2 separate regions of the Homo sapiens genome follow, and region 1 is linked to region 2. Evidence: promoter capture Hi-C in human tissues and cell types (Jung and others, 2019). All regions are on one chromosome and are shown on one strand. The core of a region is centred on a gene start or on the middle of the fragment in contact, and the rest is flanking DNA. Distances in the headings are between cores, read along the strand shown. Region 1 has its middle 39 kb from the start of LINC02561. Region 2 holds the start of UCN3 (urocortin 3).

What was found. The method cuts DNA at HindIII sites, captures the fragments that hold promoters and counts their contacts. A contact is called where the count stands out against the background at its distance.
Region 1: a contact is called between a fragment that was not itself captured here and the fragment with the promoter of UCN3 in region 2, in 1 of the 25 tissues and cell types used here (IMR-90 fibroblasts).

What each region holds. Positions count from the first base shown.
Region 1 is chr10:5,306,648-5,312,946 of GRCh38, reverse strand. No RefSeq gene overlaps it. Among named protein-coding and RNA genes, the nearest start is that of LINC02561, 39 kb to the right of the region's middle. The HindIII fragment of the contact is 3,209 bases long and covers 2,738-5,946 here.
Region 2 is chr10:5,363,009-5,369,658 of GRCh38, reverse strand. It overlaps UCN3 (urocortin 3), which reads right to left and starts at 4,693. Exons shown (of 2, transcript NM_053049.4): 1 at 4,429-4,693. The HindIII fragment of the contact is 10,177 bases long and covers 2,694-6,650 here.

The sequences.
Region 1 (6,299 bases), core at 3,093-5,592, 56 kb after region 2:
CTCTGGGCACTTGTCTGGGTGGCCTCTAGGGCTCCTTTCAGTTGGATGGTTCTAGAAAGTCTCCTTGTTATTTCCTCCTATCTCAACTTCTCACTCTTGACAGAGAACACTGGCGGCATGTGGAGTAAAAGAAGTACTTTCTTGGCATAAGAAAAACTTCAATGCCTAGTCCCTTTCAGGGAAGAGGTGGATGACTGGTTTGCAATGGGTGCCAGCTCTTGAAATACGCTTACTGTAGGTATGATTTCCCCTAATCAGCAGAGGTGCTGTTATTCCAGCAAGCGTCAGAATATGGGCTCATAAATATTATACTCTCTTGTGCTATTGTGGGCAATAGGGTACTTGACATCATCTAACAACACTTCAAAGTCAAGAGTCAATTGTTGCTGTTTTAGTGACTCTTCTTGGTGTCTGAATTAGCATCTGCTATGGTTTGAATGTAGCCCCCAGATTTCATGTGTTGGAAACTTAATCCCCAAATTCATATGTTGATGGTATTTAAAGGTGGCACCTTTGGGAGGTAAATAGGATTAGATAAGGTTGAGAGGGTGGGGCTCCCATGATGGGCCTGGTGGCTTTAAAAGAGGAGGAAGAGGGACCTGAGCTGGCACATTTGCTGATGCCCTCCACCATGTTATCACACAGCATGAAGGCCCTCACAAGATGCAGTCCCTCAACCTTGGACTTCCCAGCCTCCAGAACCATAAGAAATACATTTCTTTTCTTTATAAATTACCTGGTCTCAGGTATTCTGTTATAACAACAGAAAATGGACTAAGACAGCATCCTCCCTCCTAAGTCTTTGTGATGTATTTAAAATCTCCTTTAAGGGGCAATAAAACCAAGAGGGCTACAGAGCTTCAACCTGTGGCTTGTCAAATGCAGCCTGGTCACCAGAATGCCATGTGTCTGCAGTGTGGCGGGGGGACAGGCAGAGCTTTCCAGCCTCCAGCCTCTGTCTCAGGCTGGCTTGTGGCCCAAACAGGAAAGGGTGACAGCTTTGGTTGAAAACATTTTTTTTTTCCTGTAAATGATAAATACTTTATGGGAAGGTTAACATGCTAAGATAGTATTCATAAGTAGTTCCTTATGAATCCTTTAAGTATTCATAAGTAGTTCCTTATGAATCCTTTAAGTATTCATAAGTAGTATTCATCAGTAGTATTCATAAGATAGTATTCATAAGTAGTTCCTTATGAATCACACAATCCTTTATAACCGTTAAGAGTAAGTTTTCTTAGAGGGAGCATGAGAATTTCTCATTTTCTCATTTCTCTTCTGGCAAAAAGTGCCTTAAAAAGTTTCTATTCAACAACTTAACCCTCTTTTCCAACATGCTTTTTTTTTTTTTTTTGAGACGGAGTCTCACTCTGTTGCCCAGGTCTAGGCTGGAGTGCAGTGGTGCGATCTTGGCTCACTGCAAGCTCTGCCTCCCAGGTTCACACCATTCTCCTGCCTCAGCCTCCTGAGTAGCTGGGACTACAGGCGCCCATCACCATACCCAGCTACTTTTTTGTATTTTTAGTAGAGACGGGGTTTCACCGTGTTAGCCAGGATGGTCTTGATCTCCTGACCTCGTGATCTGCCCGCCTCAGCCTCCCAAAGTGCTGGGATTACAGGCTTGAGCCACCATGCCCGGCCTCTAACATGCTCTTTTGAACTCACTCCCATGGTGCTTTTTCTCTCAAGGACACCAGCAAACTTGATTCTTCTCAGGGACACCAGCGACATTCATTTTGTCAAACCAAACAATCCACTCTCCCTTCTTGTGTTACTTGACCTGTCAGCACCACTGACATGCTAGGCACCTGCACAGATTCCCACATGTAGTGGGTTGGGAACAATGAGCTTGGAGGGTTCATGGCTTTAGAGCAAGTGGAGGGAAGCCTGCCCTTTGCCTAGGGAAAGACATTACTTCCTCCCTGAAGGCTGCTTGCTATAAGCACAACCCTGAGACACAGCCCAGGCAAGATGCAGTCAGGACCATGCATTCTGGGCATAGCTGGCAAGAAAATGCAGTGACGTGGAGGGTCAGGTGGAAGGCCTCTTCCAAAAGTGTGTGTCCCAAAGGCAATCATTCTCAAATTCCTGAACCCTGGTTCTCCAGCATCAGTCAAGCTTAGTCTTACTATTAATTAATTATCAGCAAATATCCCCATGTTAACACACACCTAATAATGATTATAAGGATAACTCACATGTATTGAGCATGTACCATGCGGTAAGCCTGACTATGGCCTCATGTAATCTCCACAACCTCTCAGTAAGGAAAATATTGTTTGGCTCATATAGATTAGGTAATTCAACAGAGAATAGTAAGTAGTGGAACTGATATTCAAACCTACATATGCTTGGCTGGGCATGGTTGCTCATGCTTGTAATCCCAGAACTTTGGGATGCCAAGGTGGGAGGATCCCTTGACAATAGGAGTTCGCTATTAGCCTGGGCAACACAGTGAGACCCAGTCTCTACAAAAATAATTAAAAAATTAGACAGGTGTGATGGCACACACCCATAGTCTCAGCTACTCGGGAGGCTGTGGTGGATCACTTGAGCCCAGGAAGTTAAGGGGGCAGTGAGCAAGGACTGTACCACTGCATTGTAGCCTGGGTGACCCAGTGAGATCCTGTCTCTAAAAAAACACACAAACCGAACCAACACACACAGAAAACCTATGTTTGCTTGATTCCAAATCTGTCCTCTTTATGCCTCATCACCCTTCCTGATAGGATTAAATGTGCAGCATTGCATGACGTACACATATAAGAGAGTAAAGAAGGAAGGAAGAGGACCAAGAATCACGTTTTAAGAAATACTTGAAGAAGCCAAGTGGTGAATTTTTAAAAAGAGGGATGGTGAACAACAATGTATGAAAGCTCAGGCAGATGAGGTCTGAGGACAGAGCAGTGCTTGGCTGCTTGTGTAGAAAAAGGGCTTTGGGTGGGAGCATGCTTATCCTCTTCTCTCTGTTGGTCATGAATTACAGTTGGACTTTCAGGTTAGCTGACTGACAGCTTATACATTTTGTAAGATACAAGAACTCAAGACAATGTAAATCCAAGGGTGGAGTGGAGGTAAGGGCCGATGGAACAACTCACAGCACCAGCCAGCTGGAGATGGAGATATGAGAGGCAGCAGGCAGGATGACTGATGGTGGAGCCCATGGGCTTTGGTGTGAGACTTGGCTTCAAACACCTGGACATCATTTTCTAGCTCTTTTGAGAGTTAGGTCTTAGGAAAATCTTTTTATATCAGATTCTGAATTAATTGAATGTAATCAATAGCTATTTAGAAAGGAAGATGAAAAATATGCAGTCTTCATTGTGAAATAGATAAACCCCATGCTTAGGAAAAGCTTTTAATTTGAAATTTTACATAGAGTTTTTGTTTAGTGTTTTTTTTTTTTTTAAACTAGTAAATGGCACACATCATCATTTTCCTCAGCTGAGTAATATACGACCCTGGTGAATAGTAGAGAAGTAATTATTTCATTTACTTTATCTCTATCATTTTTTCCAAGGGAGAGTGGGTCTGTGAAATTTTCAGAAGCTCAATATGTCTGACTTGCAAATTAGCAGAGCTGAAAGGTGGAGAGGCTACCTTACTCTATCATCTTGGAGAGACACTTGATTGCAGAAGAAAATAAAGGCATTTAAACGGCACTTACAGAATGTTTTCTACCCTGGACTTTGTTTCCTCATTCATTCATCCCACAAATGTTTGTCAAACACTTCCTATGCCAACCATTGTTTTGAGGGTTTAATGAAAATTAAAGCTAGAAGAAAACACATGAGTCTTTTTTGTTGATCAAAACTATTCAATAGCTTTATTCTTCCATTCCATCAATATTATATTCATCTGATTACTCTTAAATTCCAATATTCCAATACACAAAGTCTCCTTTCTCTCCAGCCAACTGGTCAACTCTTTGCACCTAACTCACCACCCCATCTTGTTCGTGTTGTCATCATTCTGCCTGCCAGGAACGTTCACTCCTCTTCAGTGTATAATTTTTTTTTTCCCGTCAGATTCTAATTCAAGTCCCACTACTTTCATGAAGCCCTCCTCACCTGCTTTAGCCTGTGAGACTCCTGGAATCCTTCTAACAGCTCTCATCCCTGAATGCCCGGATGACCTTTTCTGATTATAAAAATATTGCAGGATGAGTAAGGAAAATTTGAAAGAGAAGGAAATATATCACCTCAATTCTTCTTTGCAGAGAACATTATACTTGGCATCTTGTGAATTTTTTATATGGACTTAAAAAAGCAGAACTGATGTAATAATGCATATAAAATTTTATATCTTATTTCTCCTGCTTAATGTTATATAATTACTATTTCTCCAAGTTATTAAAAACTTTCAGTTATTATTTGTAACATTTGCCTGATTTTCCACTTGAAATGTGTACCATAATTTACTCAATAATTCCTCTGTCATGAAAAATTTAGTTTGAGTTTAGTTTTTTCCTATCATAAATAACCCTGAGATAAACATAAGGCTTACTCCATATTATAAATTATTTACTTAATTAAAAATCTTAGAATTGGAATTACTATATCAAATGATGTAAACATGTTGATATATATTGCAACATTGTTGTACAAAAGGTTAATATTAATTTTCATTCTTGAGTAGACAGTTATTTCACCATATCCTCATTAGCACTAAGTATTCTTTAATAAAAACAAAACAAAAAACTTTGCTAACTTGTGTCACCTGTTTGTCATTTGGCACATGCAGCAATGATCTTCTTCCCGAAATACATTAGTCACCACACTCCCAAATCAGAGTCAGGTTATAATTTAGATTGTACTATTGATTTGAATACCCACTTAGACCTCTCGAACCTCCCACCTCACTTGTTGAAAAATTACTGTGCCCTCTGCAAAGTAAGCTGCGGTGACAATGAGGATTTCACAGCTCCTTCTCCTCTAGGATGGTCATCTTCTTTTGGGATGCAGCCTCAGGGGTCCCTGTGTTCCTTCTCCCTTTCTTCATACTGGCCCCTTCTTCGTTGGGCAACTTGTAATGTTCCGGGAGCTTTGGTGGCTTTAACCAACAGCTTCTTGCTGTTTCCTCAGTTGGCAGTGTGGAGTTATAGTTTTTTCCCCCAGCATTTGTCAGTGTTGAGCATATTTTTCTCATAACTGCTCCCCCCTTCTGCGATGTGAGATCCTATCAATATCGTTCTAATGGATCTGCCTTTCCTTCATTTCCTGTGTGGACTCTGCCCACGCCAACATGTGGGTTCTCCAGTTGTCTTCCTGGCCTCTCATTCTACAGTCTTCCTGGGCAACTCCACCTGCCTCCAAGGCAGACTTATCTCGGTGTAACAATGAGGATTTTAAAATTATATATTACATTACATAATTATTATATTGCATACTTTTATTACATATTTTTATTTAATTTATTCAGTTATTTAACTTATTTAATTTTATTACATAATTCATTACATAATGACTACGACAATTTTCAAAATTACATTAAATGTATCTTGGTGCAAAATCTGTAACTGAAATCTGCCCCCTGCTCCTGAGCTTCAGCCTAATATTCCAACACCTACTAAGTATTTCCATTTGGCTGTCTTCTAAGGTTGTAAGGAAAAGTTCTCTGGGAAGGAAATTGGAGGAAAGAGACTTTATTCCAGCAAACAGCTGACAAACGAGGGAGATGCAGCCTCCGGTGTAAACAAAGATGTGTTCCAGGGAACAAAGGGAGGGTTTGGTGTTTTCTTAAATTTTATTTTATTTTTATTTTTTATTTGAGGGATGGAGTCTTGCTGTCACCCAAGCTAGAGTGCAGTGGCACAATCTCATCTCACTACAACCTCCACCTCCTGGGTTGAAGTGATTCTCCTGCCTCAGCTTCCCAAGCAGCTGGGGCTAGGTTTTATAGCAAAAGTTTCTGCCCAATCAGGTTCAAGTATGCAAATGAAAACTTCAAACTGATTGGTCAACACAGCTGAACACTGATTGGTTGATACAGCTGAACCCTGATTGGTTGGTTCCGATGAGCTCTCCTTTGTTGGTTTAGGTGAACTCTAATTGATTGATTCAGGTAAGCTCTGATTGGTTTGTTCAAGTGAGCTCTGAAAGTTCCAAAGTTAAATAGAGGTGTGGGTTTTGGGGAACTGACGGTGCTTGTGTGACCTCCAGTCAACAAATGGCTACTTGGCTGTATTTAAAATTTGCGCCTGGTTAGCTGCTTGGGATCCATCTTGAAGGATTGGCTCTGTCAGGTTCACATTTGTGTAAACGACCTTCGAGCTCAGCATGTCCACAGTTACAGTGATT
Region 2 (6,650 bases), core at 3,444-5,943:
AACACATGATCCTCGCTTTAAATAGTCCAAACCTATGAACTAGCCAGATCTGGGCATGTTGCCTGGCGAAGTGAGAACAACACAGGCTTTGGAGTTAGACACAGGCTCGAATTCCTTCTTCGTCCTTATTTCCTTATTTGCCTGAGGGTTTGGGCCGATAACCTCTGTGAATTTCAATTTCCTTCTCTGATAAATGGGATGGCAATAACCACCTCATGAAGGTTAAGTGAAGGATTCGATGAGAAACGTCAATGTGTGTATGAAAGCTCCTTGTCTGAGCAGATGCTCAATCAAGGCTGACCCACACCTGAATAATCTCCAGGTCTTCTTAGGAGAAGATCTGGTCTGCACACAACCTTTTCAGAAGTGCATTTTACACACACAGTTGTGTATACACAATACACATATGTACAGAGAGACCAGGAAATCTGAGCAAGCATTTGATCCTGCAGAGCAATGTCCTTGTTGTATCGTATCTCTGGCTTGTAGCTTTTGGCTCCATGCTACCCTCTCCACCCTGACCTGTGCAGACTCCTTTTGCCCTTAGTCTAAGTAAGCGGTTCTCAACTTTCAGGTGCTTTGGACTCATGTGAAGGCGCGGTTCAAACACAGCCTGCGGGGCCCCGTCCCAAGAGTTTCTGAGTCACTGGGTCTGGATGCTCCTGAGAACATGCATTTCTAGCACAGTCCCACGTGATGCTGATGCTGAGGTCTGAGGGCCACACTCTGAGAACCGCTGCTCTGCGTGCTCTGACCCGACTCTGGACTCCTTAGAGCTGTACCCCGGAGTTCCAGGGGTGCACTAACCGTCCCTGTGGAAAATGGGCTTTTCTTTCCTTAAATGTTGCATTCAATAGGCAGACCTTCAGCTTTCTCATTTACAGAGGACCTAATGAGTTGTTTTTCATAAATAGAGTATGAAGCATGGTTTTAGCTGCCTTATACCTTGAAGGCATCTTAAAGCTTGGAAATTATTTCGAATGGCTTGCTAACCCTGAAAGGGTTTAAAAAAACAAAAACCAATTTGGAAAGGTTAATACTGGGGGGAAAGTGGTGGAGAAACTTTGTCTCTCTGTCCCTTTCTTCCTTCATCCCTTTTTTCCTTTCACTACCAGACTCAGTCCTGTCCCTCCCACTCACTAGCTCATGCCTAACCGCCCAGGACCTCACTATTTTCCTCTGTGAGAGCAGGGGATTGAGTTCGAGAATCTTTGTTCTGATTTCTTTCTTTTTCTACTTCTGAAAGCCAGAGGTCCCTCTACGAAAAGCACTGGGAGAATGAAATGAGTTCTTGATTTTCACCAAATGAAAGGCGCCTGGACTCTGGGTGGGTGTAAGCTAAAATAGAGGGTGCTGGCCGGACTGGGTGGCTCACACCTGTAATCCCAGCACTTTGGGGGGCCGAGGCAGGTGGATCACCTGAGGTCAGGAGTTTGAGACCAGCCTGGCCAACATAGTGAAACCCTGTCTCTACTAAAAATACAAAAATTAGCCAGGCGTGGTGGCACACGCCTGTAATCCCAGCTACCCAGAAGGCTGAGGCAGGAGAATTGCTTGAGCCTGGGAGGTGGAGGTTGCAGTGAGCCAAGATCATGCTACTGCACTCCATCCTGGGTGAAAGAGTGAGACTCTGTCTCAAAAAAATAAATAAATTAAAAAAATTAGAGGGTGCTGAGATGCAACCCTGGAGCTACCCTCAGGCCTCCCTCTGTGGGTTCCACATGGCTCTCTCCCCACTGCCCCACCACCCCATTTGTTTATTTTGCTTCCTCACTCAAACCCTGCACCCCAGCCCAGGGAACCCCTCCCTGCTCCTTTCTATTTCCTTCCCGGGGCAGCATTCTGCATTTACCCTCAAGCACTTAGAACTTTGCAGAATAATTGCAAATATTACTGAGAACTCAGACTACTTTCTGAGTTCAAGCCCATCTTGGGGCTCTGCTCACACGGACTGGCCCTTTAGTGTAAATCAACACTTGAGTTTACCTGTCTATCTCCACCCCTTAAAGACACTTTGGGTGTTATATTTCTTTGGTGTCTCCATTTCTGCTAAATATGCCAAGCCTTTCACTATCCCTCTGGGTCATTTGGCTCTCAGCAGTGACTCAGGATGCTTGGAAAAGCCTGACATGGCCAATAGTGCCTTATACTAAATCATATTCTCAATCAATATTTGTTGAATGAATTGAAATTCAGATTAGTATTCAGGCACTTAATTAAATCAATTTATTTTCCAAAGCAAAACAACCTCTTTTAAATTCTTTCATGGATGTACATTCTCTCTGCAAATCATGTTGTTACGTATCACAGAGGAAAAAATCTTTTATATGGCATACTTTTTTGGTTTTGTTTTTTAATTATGAAATCATACATGTGTACCTAGAGTCACTTGAAAGATGAGGGCTTCTGAACATGAAACAGCCTCGTCTAAGTAACTTTCTGCAATTTTCCTGTGAAAAAGTTCAGGTTTTCCCTTGCAATGGGCTAGCCTCTGGATGTGTTCCCTGGAAGTGCTACCTGTCTCATCTCAGTTACAAAAGCAAGGCATTGGGGAGAGGGAGTGAGATCCCTTTTACCTCTATATTTACTTTTTCACATTTTTGGGGTCAATTTGTAAATACTGTGCCTTTTAAAAAATGCATTACCTTCTTATTTTTCAAATCCCAAGTCTACCATCAGAGAAGAATACTGTAATCACGGCTAGGGTGCTGAAGGTGTGGAAAAATCTGTGAAAGTGTCAGGGAGCAAGTGTCCTGCGTGGCGCTCTGTTCTTGGTGCATCTGCAGGTAGCAGACCTTTCTCTCTCTGCAAACCCTCAGCTCTAGCCTGCACACGGTTGTGAGGGTATTGAAAGGTGTCCCCTTACCATCAGCAATGATGCAAAGTTACACAGCAAAGGAACCTCCCAGAACTGTGAATTGGACATGATAGGGACGCCCGGTGCTGAGCTTAGTTTTAGATCGTTTAAAATGTAAGGGTTCTTTGCAACCCTGGATGGTTTCACCATCAAAGTGTGTGAGTGGCTGGGGGCTGGAAGGTAGATTCAGATTTCTTTCCAGGACTTTTCTTTTTAGGATCTGTTTAGATTTGTTTAGGGTTTATAGGATAAAAGAAAAGGAACTCTCCCCAAAGAAGAAAAGATACTCTGTACTTCCCACATAAAGTCTAATTTTGCAAGTTTCTCCTTTTACATTCCTTGGACTCTTCTGCCATATTCTTGGTGAAACAGCACAAAAGTTTAAGATTTCTCTGCAGTCTGCCACGAAAATAACTGGGCACCATCTAGTTATTAATACATTTGAGGGGCAAAGCTCTACACCTGTATTTTTCTCTGGGTGCCTGAAACTCAACCATTCCTTTGGGCTATGGTGACAGTAGCACTTGTCGAGGATGCTGTAAAGAGACACAGTTACTTCTGGGAGCTGTGGCAGAGCCAAGCACTGAAACGTGAGGGACCTGGGTCAGCCTCCAATTCCCAGCACCTCACAGGGAGAGGACAGGACATGAAGCAGCAAAGGCAGGAGGCAAACAGTACTGATCACACATCTCTGCCAAGTGCAGAGCTATTCCTGTGGGCTCCGTTTGTCTGCAAACACTGATAAGAAGTTAAACTGAAACTAGACCACTTAAAACGTTTTAAAAATCTCACATTTGTTATTTTTGGTAGGTGGCTATGCTTGGGAAAGAAATTGCGAACAGGAATTTTCAGAAAACATAAACATCAAACATCCATCTCCCCTTCACAGGTAGGAGTTAGCCATTGTAGGTATCTGCACACACCCCCGCAATGTTCCTAGTGTGGCAAAGGGCTCTGGGCTTTGGTGGCAGAGGACCTGGCTGGGGAAACTCCCTTGCCTCTGACTTTTCTTGGGTGAATCCCTTAACCTGCATTTCACTTGCCGCGTCCTAGGAAGGAGACGTTACCTGCTTCACAGGTGTGCCCGAGAGTGACGGGAGATGGCACAGGTGAAGGTTTGTGGCACAGGTAAACAGTAAGTGCAGGTGTCCTCGCTGCTTTGCAGGCGGCGTGGAGTCATGTCCTGTGGCTCCCATTAGCCCCGGCATCCCTACCCCATCCCCATTTGTAAACTGTCTCCGAGGACTGACTTTCCTGTGCACAGCTGTGCTCTGTTCAGAGAAAACAGATTTGTGTGAACACCTTCTGCCTCTGATCTAACACCTTTGGAAAGAGGGTCTCTCTATACCAACGTGGGAATGTGATTGTGCCTCCCTGAGAAACTTCCCCTGGTCCCTTTGGGGCTGATTTCTGCTGATTGGGTGGGGGGCGTTCAGCATCGCTCCCTTGGGCTTCCACCCAGGGGCGCTAGCAGCTCTCATCTCTCACACCTGTCTAGTGCATGGCACCTCCTGCTTAAATTAGGGCAGATACATTTACCCTTCATAAGTCAGTCCCAGCCACAAGCTTACCCGAGAGTGGACTTCCCTCCGCAGCGAAACGCTCAGGGAGGCCGGCGCAGCTTCAGGGCCAGGAGGGCGGCCCCGTGCACGTCCCCATGAACTTGTGGCTGCTCCGGGGTCTCGGCTCCTGCTTCTCCGGTATTGTTCCTAAGTGGGCTGTGATATTCCCTCTCTATGGAAACGGTCCCCTCCCCTGTGTGTATATAAAAGTGACAGATCACAGGGTGGATCGTAATTCCAGACGTGGTGTCTACGCTGGGATGAGATTTCATTTAAAATACAACCAGAACCAGCCGTCCACGTCATGCAGACGACAGGTGCTCCAACCTCGACCCCTCCCACCTCTGCTTCCCACCCCGCCCTTCTACCCCCCAACTCCTTTTGCATCCTAGCAACTTGCTTCATTGATAAAAGCAAAGAACAAAAAAGAAAAAGAAGAAATAAAAACTCAAAACAAAACAAAACAAAAATCCTGGTAAAGTGAGAAGCAGTGTCTTTGAAGAATTTTATTGCTGATCTTAGTTCTAACTAATTTCAGTTTCCCCCACATTCCCCTTGCCCTAACTCTCCTTCTGTAAATGTAGAGCCTGGACCTGCTTTGAAAGCAGAGAAGGGGTTTAAAATCCACCTGTTGCCGTGTTGTTTTGTGGGTTCTGACCGTGCAGCGTCATCTGGCCGCACACGTAGCCCCTTGTGCTTGTCACACACTCGGTGCCTACTCCCCACATAAAGTCTAATTATGCAAGTTTCTCCTTTCACATTCCTTGGGCTCTTCTGCCGTACCCTCAGTGAAACAACACGAAAGTTTAAGATTTCTCTGCAGCCTGCCGCGAAAATGACTGAGCACCATCTATTTGTTAATACGTTTGAGGGGAAAGCTCTACACCTGCATTTTTCTCTGGATACCTGAAACTCAACCATTCCTTTGGGCTATGACAGCAGGTCATCATACACCAGAGGTCTGGAGGTTTTAGTGGGAAATGGCTTGGATTTTACTCGTTTATGCATCCTATATTTATTGAGGACTTACTGTGTACCAGGTATTGCCAAGACACCCACGAGTTCAGAGATAAGTAAGTTGTGGCCCCTAACCATACAGGGCCTCATGGTTTAGAAAGGTAGGGAAGGCTGGGTGCGGTGGCTTATGCCAGTAATCCCAGCACTGTGGGAGGCCGAGGCGGGCAGATCACGAGGTCAGGAGTTCAAGACTAGCCTGGCCAACATGGTGAAACCCCGGCTCTACTAAGAATACAAAAAAAATTAGCCGGGCATGGTGGCGAGTGCCTGTAATTCCAACTACTCAGGAGGCCAAGGCAAGAGAATCACTTGAACCTGGGAGGTGGGGGTTGCAGTGAGCTGAGATGGCGCCATTGCACTCCAGCCTGGGCAACAGAGTGAGACTCCATCTCAAAAGAAAGAAAGAAAGAAAGGTAGGTAAAAAATGCTACAGAAGAGAGCAGTCCTGTCTACTCAAGACAGGAGAGGAGAGCAGGAGGGGTTTCAGACAGAAAGGATGGATCAGCATGGACTGAGCCAGGGCTGAGAGGAACGGGAGAGAAGGAGGACGATGGGAGGGAGGTGTTGGTGGGTGCAGAGGCTGCTCTGCACTAAGGTGCTCCAAAGGCCTGCGGAGTTGGGAGTTTATTCCATATGTAATGGGGAGATGTGGGAGACTACGGTCTGTTGACCCCTTATTCACAGATGAGGAAGCTGAGGCTGTAAAAAGTGACCTGCTGGGACCCCACAGGCCCAGGGTGACAGAGTCAGGTGAGAACCAGGCCTGACGCTGGGCTCAGTGCTCCTTTCACTGGGCTGAGCTGATGACAAGGGGCCCTGCAAGACCGGCTGGCTGTCCCTAGCCCTCCTCCCAGACGGCTGCTCCACTCTCGTGAATTCCTGCAGGTGAAGAGGTAAGAGGTCTTCTGAAATTACCAAAACTCTTTAAAGCCCATGAGCATTTGGAGGAACAAATGGAAAGCTGTTGTGGGGAAGGACTTCAAGACTCTGTACTCCCCATTTTAAGTCTCTTTATGGAGATAGGAAATTGGACCTCCCTCTCTTCCTTCTTTCAGAGCTGCCTGGGCTAGGATCCTCTTGAGATTGGAGGCAACATGAAACTGAATCTGTGTTTCAATTCAAATTCATTACTTCATTCATTCATTCATTAGTTCATTCATTCATTCATTCATTAGTTCATTCCTTCATTAGTTCCTTCATTCATTCATTTGTTC